Linked DNA regions of Homo sapiens: regions 1 and 3 are each linked to region 2. The links are contacts of gene promoters, found by promoter capture Hi-C in blood cells and fetal thymus (Javierre and others, 2016). All regions are on one chromosome and are shown on one strand. Each heading gives the region's core, a stretch centred on a gene start or on the middle of the fragment in contact. The rest is flanking DNA. Distances are from core to core; before and after follow the strand shown. Region 1 overlaps NUCB2 (nucleobindin 2). Region 2 holds the start of HPS5 (HPS5 biogenesis of lysosomal organelles complex 2 subunit 2). Region 3 overlaps C11orf58 (chromosome 11 open reading frame 58).

The links. The method cuts DNA at HindIII sites, captures the fragments that hold promoters and counts their contacts. A CHiCAGO score of 5 or more calls a contact.
Region 1: a contact is called between a fragment that was not itself captured here and the fragment with the promoter of HPS5 in region 2, in 1 of 17 cell types (naive CD4 T cells). The highest score is 5.7, in naive CD4 T cells.
Region 3: a contact is called between a fragment that was not itself captured here and the fragment with the promoter of HPS5 in region 2, in 1 of 17 cell types (fetal thymus). The highest score is 6.2, in fetal thymus.

What each region holds. Positions count from the first base shown.
Region 1 is chr11:17,283,479-17,286,756 of GRCh38, reverse strand. All of the region lies in intron 2 of NUCB2 (nucleobindin 2), which reads right to left. Among named protein-coding and RNA genes, the nearest start is that of NUCB2, 8.4 kb to the right of the region's middle. The HindIII fragment of the contact is 2,821 bases long and covers 322-3,142 here.
Region 2 is chr11:18,320,343-18,323,417 of GRCh38, reverse strand. HPS5 (HPS5 biogenesis of lysosomal organelles complex 2 subunit 2) reads left to right here and starts at 1,278. Exons shown (of 23, transcript NM_181507.2): 1 at 1,278-1,472. It overlaps GTF2H1 (general transcription factor IIH subunit 1), which reads right to left and starts at 851. Exons shown (of 15, transcript NM_005316.4): 1 at 678-851. RefSeq lists enhancers at 874-1,293, 1,304-1,603, 494-1,693, 831-1,780. The HindIII fragment of the contact is 9,902 bases long and covers 1-3,075 here.
Region 3 is chr11:16,742,664-16,745,570 of GRCh38, reverse strand. It overlaps C11orf58 (chromosome 11 open reading frame 58), which reads right to left. Exons shown (of 5, transcript NM_014267.6): 2 at 887-970. Among named protein-coding and RNA genes, the nearest start is that of C11orf58, 5.5 kb to the right of the region's middle. The HindIII fragment of the contact is 3,409 bases long and covers 1-2,907 here.

The DNA.
Region 1 (3,278 bases), core at 483-2,982, 1.0 Mb after region 2:
GAGTGATAAGGACAGGCAATAGGAAGAAGGAGAACTAACCTACTTTTCTTCCACTATCAGGTCAGTAAGAATGGCCTTCTCCTTTCCTTTATCACCCTCTTCTTTCATAAGAGAGATACGGACCTAAAGAGGAGACACTGGGCTGAACCAGGCTGAAACAGTAGACTCATCCAAACCAGGACAGGCTGATAATTTACTCTCTAAAGTAGGATGGTGTGAAATTCTAAATTATGTAGTCATCTCAAGACAGAATGGGAGGCACTGACCCCAAAGGCATCAGAGCCTCTGGTAAAATTACAAAGTAAGCAGAGTTCTTAAGCTTCTCTTAGTATTCAGTAGATATAATTTCCTTAAATTTTAAAGTCCTAAAAGAAAGCTAATCTCTCTTCCCCTGTCTCAACCAAGTCAAAATTTCTATTCTGCTGGGCACGGAGGTTCCTGCCTATAATCCCAGCACTTTGTGAGGACAAGGAGGGTGGATTCCTTGAGCCCAGGAGTTCAAGACCAGCCTGAGCAATATGGTGAAACCTCTGTCTCTACAAAAAATACAAAAATTAGTTGGGCATGGTGGCACATGCCTGTAGTCCCAGCTACTTGGTGGGGGATGAGGTGGGAAGATCACCTGAGCCCAGCAGGTTGAGGCTGCAGTGAGCCATGGTCACGCCACAGCACTCTAGCCAGGGTGACAGAGTGAGAACATGTCTCAAAAAATAAAATTTCCATTCATACACAGAGGCAGATTTCTTAGCTACTGATTTATACCCATAGTTATACAGATTAAGTTTGCTTTGTGTGTGTGTGTGTGTGTGTGTGTGTGTGTGTACGCACACGTGCGCGCATGTATGTGTGATGGTTTCCTGTTTTGATTGTTGGGCAAGATATCCTGGAAGTGGTTAAAAAAAATTACCATAGATAACCAGGGTGAAAAGTACAGAAAACTGAAAATTTTCTCTTTCCTTGGAAGTAGTCTCTGTTCCTCCTTTATATATCTTTTTTTTTTTTTTTTTTTTTTTGAGACGGAGTCTCACTCTGTCACCCAGGCTGGAGTGCAGTGGCGCGATCTTGGCTCACTGCAAACTCCGCCTCCCGGGTTCACACCATTCTCCTGCCTCAGCCTCCTGAGTAGCTGGGACTACAGGTGCCCGCCACCACGCCCAGCTAATTTTTTTTTTTTTTTTTTGAGACAGTGTCTCGCTCTGTTGCACAGGCTGGAGTGCAGTAGTGCAATCTCAGCTCACTGCAACCTCCGCCTCCTGGGTTTAAGCAATTCTCCTGCCTCAGCCTCCTAAGTAGCTGGGACTACAGGCGCATGCCACCATGCCTGGCTAATTTTTTGTGTTTTTTTTAGTAAAGACAGGGTTTCACCATGTTGTCCAGGCTGGTCTCGATCTCTTGACCTCGTGATCCGCCCGCCTCGGCCTCCCAAAGTGCTGGGATTATAGGCGTGAGCCACCTCACCCAGCCACGCCCGGCTAATTTTTTTGTATGTTTTTAGTAGAGACGGGGTTTCACCATGTTAGCCAGGATGGTCTTGATCTCCTGACCTTGTGATCTGCCCGCCTTGGCCTCCCAAAGTGCTGGGATTACAGGCATGAGCCACCGCGCCCAGCCTCTTTTATGTATCTTTTTCCATCTTCCTCAACCCTCTTCTTTTGCCCCTCTTCCTTTTCAATTAATGGCTGAATTGAAGCATGTTTCCTTTAACCTATTATAAGTATGTATGTATGTATGTATGTATGTATTGAGACTTTGTTTCTAAAAACAAAACTAAACTAATATTTATGTATTAAGTAATGACTATGGTACCAGATACTATGCTAGAAGACAAAGGTAAGCGAGATCGACATAGTCCTTACCCTCACAGGGCTTCAATCTAGTGAGGAAGGTAAGCTATTAAATACAATTGCAATTTTTAAAATGCTGCTTACAAAACAATGCATAGCATGATACTTTTCTGTTAATTAAAAAAAATTAAAAGTCATGAAAATGGTATTCACCAAACAGACATTCTCAGTCAGGTGATTTATAACGTTAAATGTCTCTTAAAAACTGGGTTGTTTTTATGGTCACAAGTCTCCTGATTATTTTGTTTGAGGTCAACAAGTCTAGATCAGAAAAAAGGAAACTGCAATACTAGCAGCAAAAGAACTACTGTACTTTGTGCCTATCTAATACAACCAAAAAATGTAAAAACTTTCAAAAATACAAATATACTGTGTAGAAATAAAATCTTAACTTACTGTCTCCCTTCTAAAAACTCTAAAAGATTGACTGAATCTTTAGAATCTTTCTCACTCCAATTTCCATTCCCTGAATTTCTTTTTCTCAAAGCTATTTATTTCAGTTTACTTTTGAAATAGAAATAATGACAATTGAACCATTTTGCAGGACAAGTATAGGGTATATTTATATAATATTCACAAAGAAAAGTCTGGAAGGGGCTGGGCACGGTGGCTCACTCCTGTAATCCCATCACTGTAGGGGGCTGAGGCAGGCAGATCACCTGAGGTCAGGAGTTCAAGACCACCCTGGCCAACATGGTGAGACCCCATCTCTACTAAAAATACAAAAATTAGTTGGGTGTGGTGGTGGATGCCTGTAGTCCCAGCTACTGAGGAGGCTGAGGCAGGAGAATCGCTTGAACATAGGAGGCAGAGGTTGCACTAAGCCATTGCACTCCAGCGTGGGTGAAAGAGTGAGACTCCGTCTCAACAAAAAAAATAAAAGTCTGGAAGGAAATAAAATATTGGTGTGGCTAAATAAGTTAAGCAAGAACTAGTAGTAAGAGAAAATTTCAAGACAACTAACAGTTAAGTGGTTAAAAAAAGAAGAAAGGAAAGAAAAAGAACAAACTACTTTTAGCTAGCAAGGAAGGCAAGTGTTCCTCATGTGACCATAGTGAAATGTATCTTGAGATGAATTATATTTACTTTCAATATAAATTTACTTCCTGATGATTAGTTATGTGATACCCTTGGGATAACTTATCTCTGTCATTTTAGTGCCTTGATTATAGCAAGTAGCTCAATAAATGTTAGCTCTTTTTAACACAACCATAAAATGTACAACAAACATCTATTGAGCATTTATGGGTAATTTTAAAAAATAACCAGAACAAATCCACAAATAAGACAGAAAAGCTTCTATAATGAATTAAGGGCTAAAAGTAAAAACAGAAACACAATTTATTACATGAAGATTATTTCCTTCTGTAGTTAATAGTCAGACTTATATCTCTGCCATGGCAAATTATAGAAGCTTCTATGAGTGGTTATCAC
Region 2 (3,075 bases), core at 29-2,528:
GGTCTAGGCAGGAGAATCGCTTGAGCCCAGGAATTCGAGGTTACAGTGAGCTATTATCACGCCACTGCATTCCAGCCAGGACGACAGAACAAGACTCTGTCTCTTAAAAAAAAATAAGAAAAGTCACCTCCTTATTTAATTTGGCCTTTGAGAACACTGGGGGATTTACAAAATAATTACATATATCCAGGTACTCATGGTCTATTTTTCATCATTACACGACAATCAAATGACCAAAACTAGGAGTGTGTGGACTGGCACGTGTTAAGGTTTTTAAGAGAGGTAAGATTGACAGGTGGAAGCAAAAGGTGTGCAGACAACAAGGTGACAGCTTTTCTCTTACAGAATCCCAGACTCAACAGCACATTTCCTGACGGGAAGGGCTTCTCTGTCTGGGAGAGGCCTCCACTTCATTCTCATAAGCCAAATCTGATCCTGGCTTTGGGTAAACCTGCTCTCAATTTAAGAGCAGGTTTCCTTTAGACAAGTAGATTAGGGGTCGCCTCTTCCTCGCCTCGGGATAAGGGCAAACAAGACGCCAGGCTTGGGCGTTGGGAGGACGGCGACAGCGACGCTGGGAACAGGGGTAGAATCCACGCCGTCCAGCGGCCCCCAGGCCTGTCAGCTCCTCACCCGCCCACCCACCCGCCCGCCTGCATTCTTCGGTCTAAACTTACCAGGTGGAAGCTACAACTCTAGACAGGAAGTAACTAACTGGGTTGGATCCGGTCGAGTTCCGCTGCGCTTCTTAGAGCCGCTGCTGGGAAGAGGCCGAAACCCAGTGGCCGCAGCAGTAGCCACCGCCTCTGTTACTAGGGGGTCTCGCCTCCATCGCTGGCTGCGAGGAGTCTGAGGGCACGTGACCGGAAGTAGCAAGGCGGGCCCTGGGCACGTGACTCAAGAGCGCGGCCGCCATGACACCTTCCGCTAGTTCCCTCCCTCCCCCACGGGTTCCCGCCTGTTTCGTTTCCTCTCTCCGGTCTCGAGCGGCGAAGGGTCCTGGGATCCTGGCTGGCCCAACCATTTGGCCTAGAGCTCCTCCGGTTCCAGTCGGCGCCGTGTCTCCAGCCCGCAACGGCCCTGCGGTCGCAGGCCGTAGAGAGCGTAATCGCGACCGCGGCCTGAGGGGGAGGGACCACGCGGAAGGAGGGGCGTGACTCGTCACGTGATGAGGAAGTGCCGTTAGTAGCGTTGTTTCCAGTCTGCGGCTCTCCTGGATGACGTCAGCAAGGAAGGGGAGGAACGCGAGGGGAGACTGAAGTTCACGTTCCGCTCTTAGTGCGCGGTGAGTTCCCCGGCGCTAAGCCGGGAGACAAGATCCGATCTACTGAGAGCTGCGAGGTACTGCCCTGGATGTGGTGGAGCTGGGCTGGGACCTCCGGGCTGCTGGTCTGTGAGCCTGGCTTTGAAAATTGGTTACTGGGTCTCCTCTCAAGAAATCTCAAGATATTAAAGTTACTGCTGTTAAAAAGGTAGTAGTTCCACTAGGCAAGGAGCTTTTTGTGGGTAGGGATTGTGTTTTGTTCATCCCTGTGTCTCTAGCGGTGTGTTCAGGTCCTGGAACATAGTAGGCACTCAGAATGTTGAATGAATGAATGTATAAATGAGTCAGTCGCCATTTGTCTGAGGCAGAGAGTTGTTTTCTGATCATTTCTTCTTGGATAGAAAGATCCCATTGTGAAAATGAGGCAGTCTGCAACTTCCCCTTCTCATTTCTTCAATTTTTGCTATCTTTCTTACTTCTTTCTCCTCTTCCTCCACGCACCTACTGGGGCAAAAGAGAAACATGTTTGCATTTGATGTGTGAGCAACAAACACTGAACTATTTTACGATAATGGAAAGATGAGATTTGGATTCAGGAGACGCGTATTCTAATCTCAGCTCTACCATTTATGAACTCTGTGATCCTTGGGCAAGCCAGTCTCCCAAAAGTTGTTTCATTTACTTTGGTTAAGCATTTGTCGCCAACTTCTATGTTCTTAGTTTTTGGTAGAGTGCCTTCACAGAAGTAACATTTAAACTCAGCTTTGCAGAAAGGTAGGGTTTTGGTAAATGGGGGAAGATTCCATAAACATCATATATTAAACCATGGAGGCACAGCAAGTTTATGGAATGAAAAAGAAAAAAAGAGTCGAGTCCAATGTAGTTGGAGAATAGAGAGGTTAAGATGGGAAATAAGGCTGGAAAAAGAAGCAGGGAGGAGATAACAGATTTTCAAGAAATAGAGCTGTTGAAGGCTTGTACAATATTATGTATATATTTTTTAAATTTTATTGTGGAAAATTTCAAACGCAGACAAAAGTAGGATAATAAATTGAACCCTCATGTACACTTAACGCAACTTGAACAATTATCAGCATTCTGCTGTTCCTCTTTATACTGTTTGTACATTTCTAGGTACTTTTTATATCCATTGTTGCATTTGATTAATAGCAGCTTTCAATTTGAGCTCAGTTCTACTGTATGTAGCTACTGGCTAAGAAGATTTTATTTATGTAAACAATTTCTTTGGGTTTTAGTTGACCACTTGCTCTGTTGAATCAATGTGTAACATGGCCACTTAAACACAACTAATACTGTTTTTAGGTTGTAATATAGAAACTTAGTGTCTAGATCCAGGAAGTTAGTGTTTCTACTCTATTCTGGGCTCATCTAACTACTTAAGGAGTATTATGCTCAGTTCTAGGCACCTCATTTTTAGGCAAACTACAGTGCCTCTGTAGAAGGTTGACTGGAACAGAGGGTTGGAAAATGTCATGTCAGGAGTGATGAAGAAACTGGGAATGTTAAATTTTTAGAAGACCTGATAATGCTTTTCAAATACAGAAGGATTGTTTTGGAAAGAGACAGCTTGTTCCCTTCAGCTGTAGAAGCTACATACAATTAGGAATAATGGTAGAGCTCTAAGTGATCAGGCTTCAGCATAGTATTAAAAAGAACCTTATAATAGTGAGCCCTTTGGAGGACTGGAATTGGCAGCTTCATGAGAGTGAGTGCTTTCTTTCCATGGCTGAAAATGTTCAGGGATCTAGGGCAAAACTAATTTCTGAATTAGGTGGACATGTTCACTGAAT
Region 3 (2,907 bases), core at 169-2,668, 1.6 Mb after region 2:
AAGATGAAGACCTTTATGATAATCCACTTCCAATTAATGAAGAGTCAATTATTTTCTCTTCCTTATAATTTTCTTGATAACATTTCCTTTTCTTTATTGTAAGAATACAGGATATAATACATTTAACACCCAAAATATGTGTTAACTGATAATTATGTTATCAGTAAGACTTCCAGTCAACAGTAGGCTATTAGTAGTTAAGTTGTTGGGGAGTCAAAAGTTATATGCAAACTTCTGACTGCCTGCAGAACCAGCACCCCTAACCCCCACATTGCTCAAGGGTCAACTGTACCTTCTATTAACGTTAACCAAACTGACAGGCATTTCAAAGTATCTTGAACATTTTTAAAATTAAGGTTTTCTTTCCCCCTGGTGTTCTACACATTCAGAGAAACTTCTCTATCTAGTAACAAACTATAGAAATAATCTCTGAAAGTGTAGTCTTAAAATTAAGTTTTTGATAAAGGATATTCCTCTGGTTACTACTTCAAGGGCTGGAGGGAGCTATAAAATATGACAGCCTTTTCACTTTGGCCAGAGGTTCCCACAAGATAACCTACCCAGAAGAAATATATTCTATCAAACCACTGGGCCAACATATGGCAAATCATAAACTTTGACATCTCTTTTCTCCTATACAGCCTCCTTGAACCAAATTTTTCTCTGTACAGTCTTCAAACTATACGGACAGAGAATCCTAGAAGTGGCTCAAAAATAATATAAATTTTATGTGCTTGGTTAGGCCACATGTATTTCCCAAAGCCAAAAGAAATCACACAGAACAGGAAAATGGAATCCAAGTATATTCAGTCCTTCTTACTTAGCATACATAAAAATGGCAATATTTTCACAGAAAAGGTAAAAATGCACACCATCTGATGCTTACCTTTCCTGCACCCATAAGTCTCAAGAACTTTTGTTTTCTCTCTTCATTACCCAAGTCTGCTGCCTCCCAATTGCTAGATCCCAGCTAGAAAAAAAATTGGTTGATTAAATTTTTTTTGCATAAAAATAAGTATTACGAAATCTAAAGTCTACCTGTAACTCTCAAGTTTTTTTCCCCTGTCAGTTGTAACTATAAACAGCGTTCATTTTTCTTGCTTAGGAAGTTAAGCATATTCATCACATTCAAATTTACTCCTTTTCTATTACCTCACAGCAGAATCCTTTAGTTCTCCTACAGCCAGAGCTGAGTCTCAAAAGTTTGCCTCTATCAGCGTCACCTAGAGGGCTTGTTAAAACAGACTGCAGGGCTACAGCCCCAGAGATTCAGCGGGTCTGGGGTGGAGCTCTAGGATTTGAATTTCAACAAATTCTTAAATGATTGCTGATGCTATTTATCTGGGGACCACACTTTGAGACCCACTGCCTCGCAGGGTAGGGTCCTAGAGCACCTAGTACTCTGAACTTAGATGGCAGCCACAGTTGTTAGTTGAAGTTAAAAATTCTGCCTTTATCAGTGAGCTAACTTTTAAGAGAGAAAATTTTAACTTTTCAGTTGCCTTTTTTTTTTTTTTTTTAGCAGTTCTAGTTACTTGTTAGGATTGAGATGTCATTACTTTTATTCTTTCTTAAAAGTCTTCCAAAGAACAAAGAGAAAACTTATTTTTTAAAAGAACAGACTAAAACTCATGCTATCTTGCAATTATCAAATGAGTCCACTGAACTCTTATAAATCTAAGAAATATGATGGAATCCTAGTGAGCGTATTTTTTCCCTACATTTTGAAACAAATGTAAAAACTGTTGTTTTTTAATAGTTTTTAATAGTTCATTATTTATAATTCATTATTTATAATTCATTATTCTCAACTATGCTAAAAATAACTAAATAGTTTTTAAGATATTAGTTTTCTCATTGTATTGTCCAAAGTATTTCATCATCATCTTTCAAGACATCATACCTGTTGTCTACTTTTAGCTTTCACTGAACACCGATGGGAATTCACAATTTTTCATTTTCCATTCATAATGGCAAAGAGAAAAAACTGACAGAAGGCATTAATCATTATTAGACGAAGAAGGTGAATGCAAAATGAAAGGCAGTCGTATTCTAGACTAATCATGATAAAATTAACTGCAAAAATCTCAGACTATGAGTTTTTGGATGAGGAAATATTAGAAGGCTTTTCTCCCACCCAAGAATTGACAAGAAAAAGAAAAAAAAGACAAACAAGAAATGTACTCTCACTGGGAGAGCCATCAGCAGGAAGGACTTCATCTTGCAATATTTCACAGTAAGAGCCAGGATCATCCCATTTTCTAAAAGGAGGTGTGAGTGTTTTATCTCATCTTTTACAATGTTTATGCATCAAAATTTACTTGATTTGGTTGCAAATGGACAAAGGGTGAAGGCAGATGTGTACACAAGGTGACTGGAAGGAAAATGAAATAAAAATATTCACCGAATTTATCATTCTAATTAAGTTTATAATCTAAAAATAAAAATGTTTTGCAATTATGGAGCAAGGATGACAATTACAAAATTGTAAGCAATAGGTTTCAAAAATTCCTCAAGTATTGTATTTTGATGATGCAAATCCGAGACAGGTTTGAACTTCAAGGGTCCCTTATAAGTGGATTTTTTTCAACCAAATGCAGATCCATCCCAAGTATATGGAAGGCTGATTTTTCCTATTCTCAGGTTCCACAGGGCTGGCTGCAGAACTTGAGTATGCAAGATTTGCCAAAGAGGTGGGTGGGTCCTGGAACCAATCCCCCACATTTAGCATACTGAAGGATGACTATATGTACATCAAAATCAGGAAAACAAAGAATATAAATTTCGGTTTGCTATTGTTAAATTCACATTAAAATTCCTAATAAAGTTGTTTTGCACTATCTCCCATTATTATTTCTAAAAATTATTTGTAAAAGACTAAAAGAATATTTAAAAAAACCACTATTT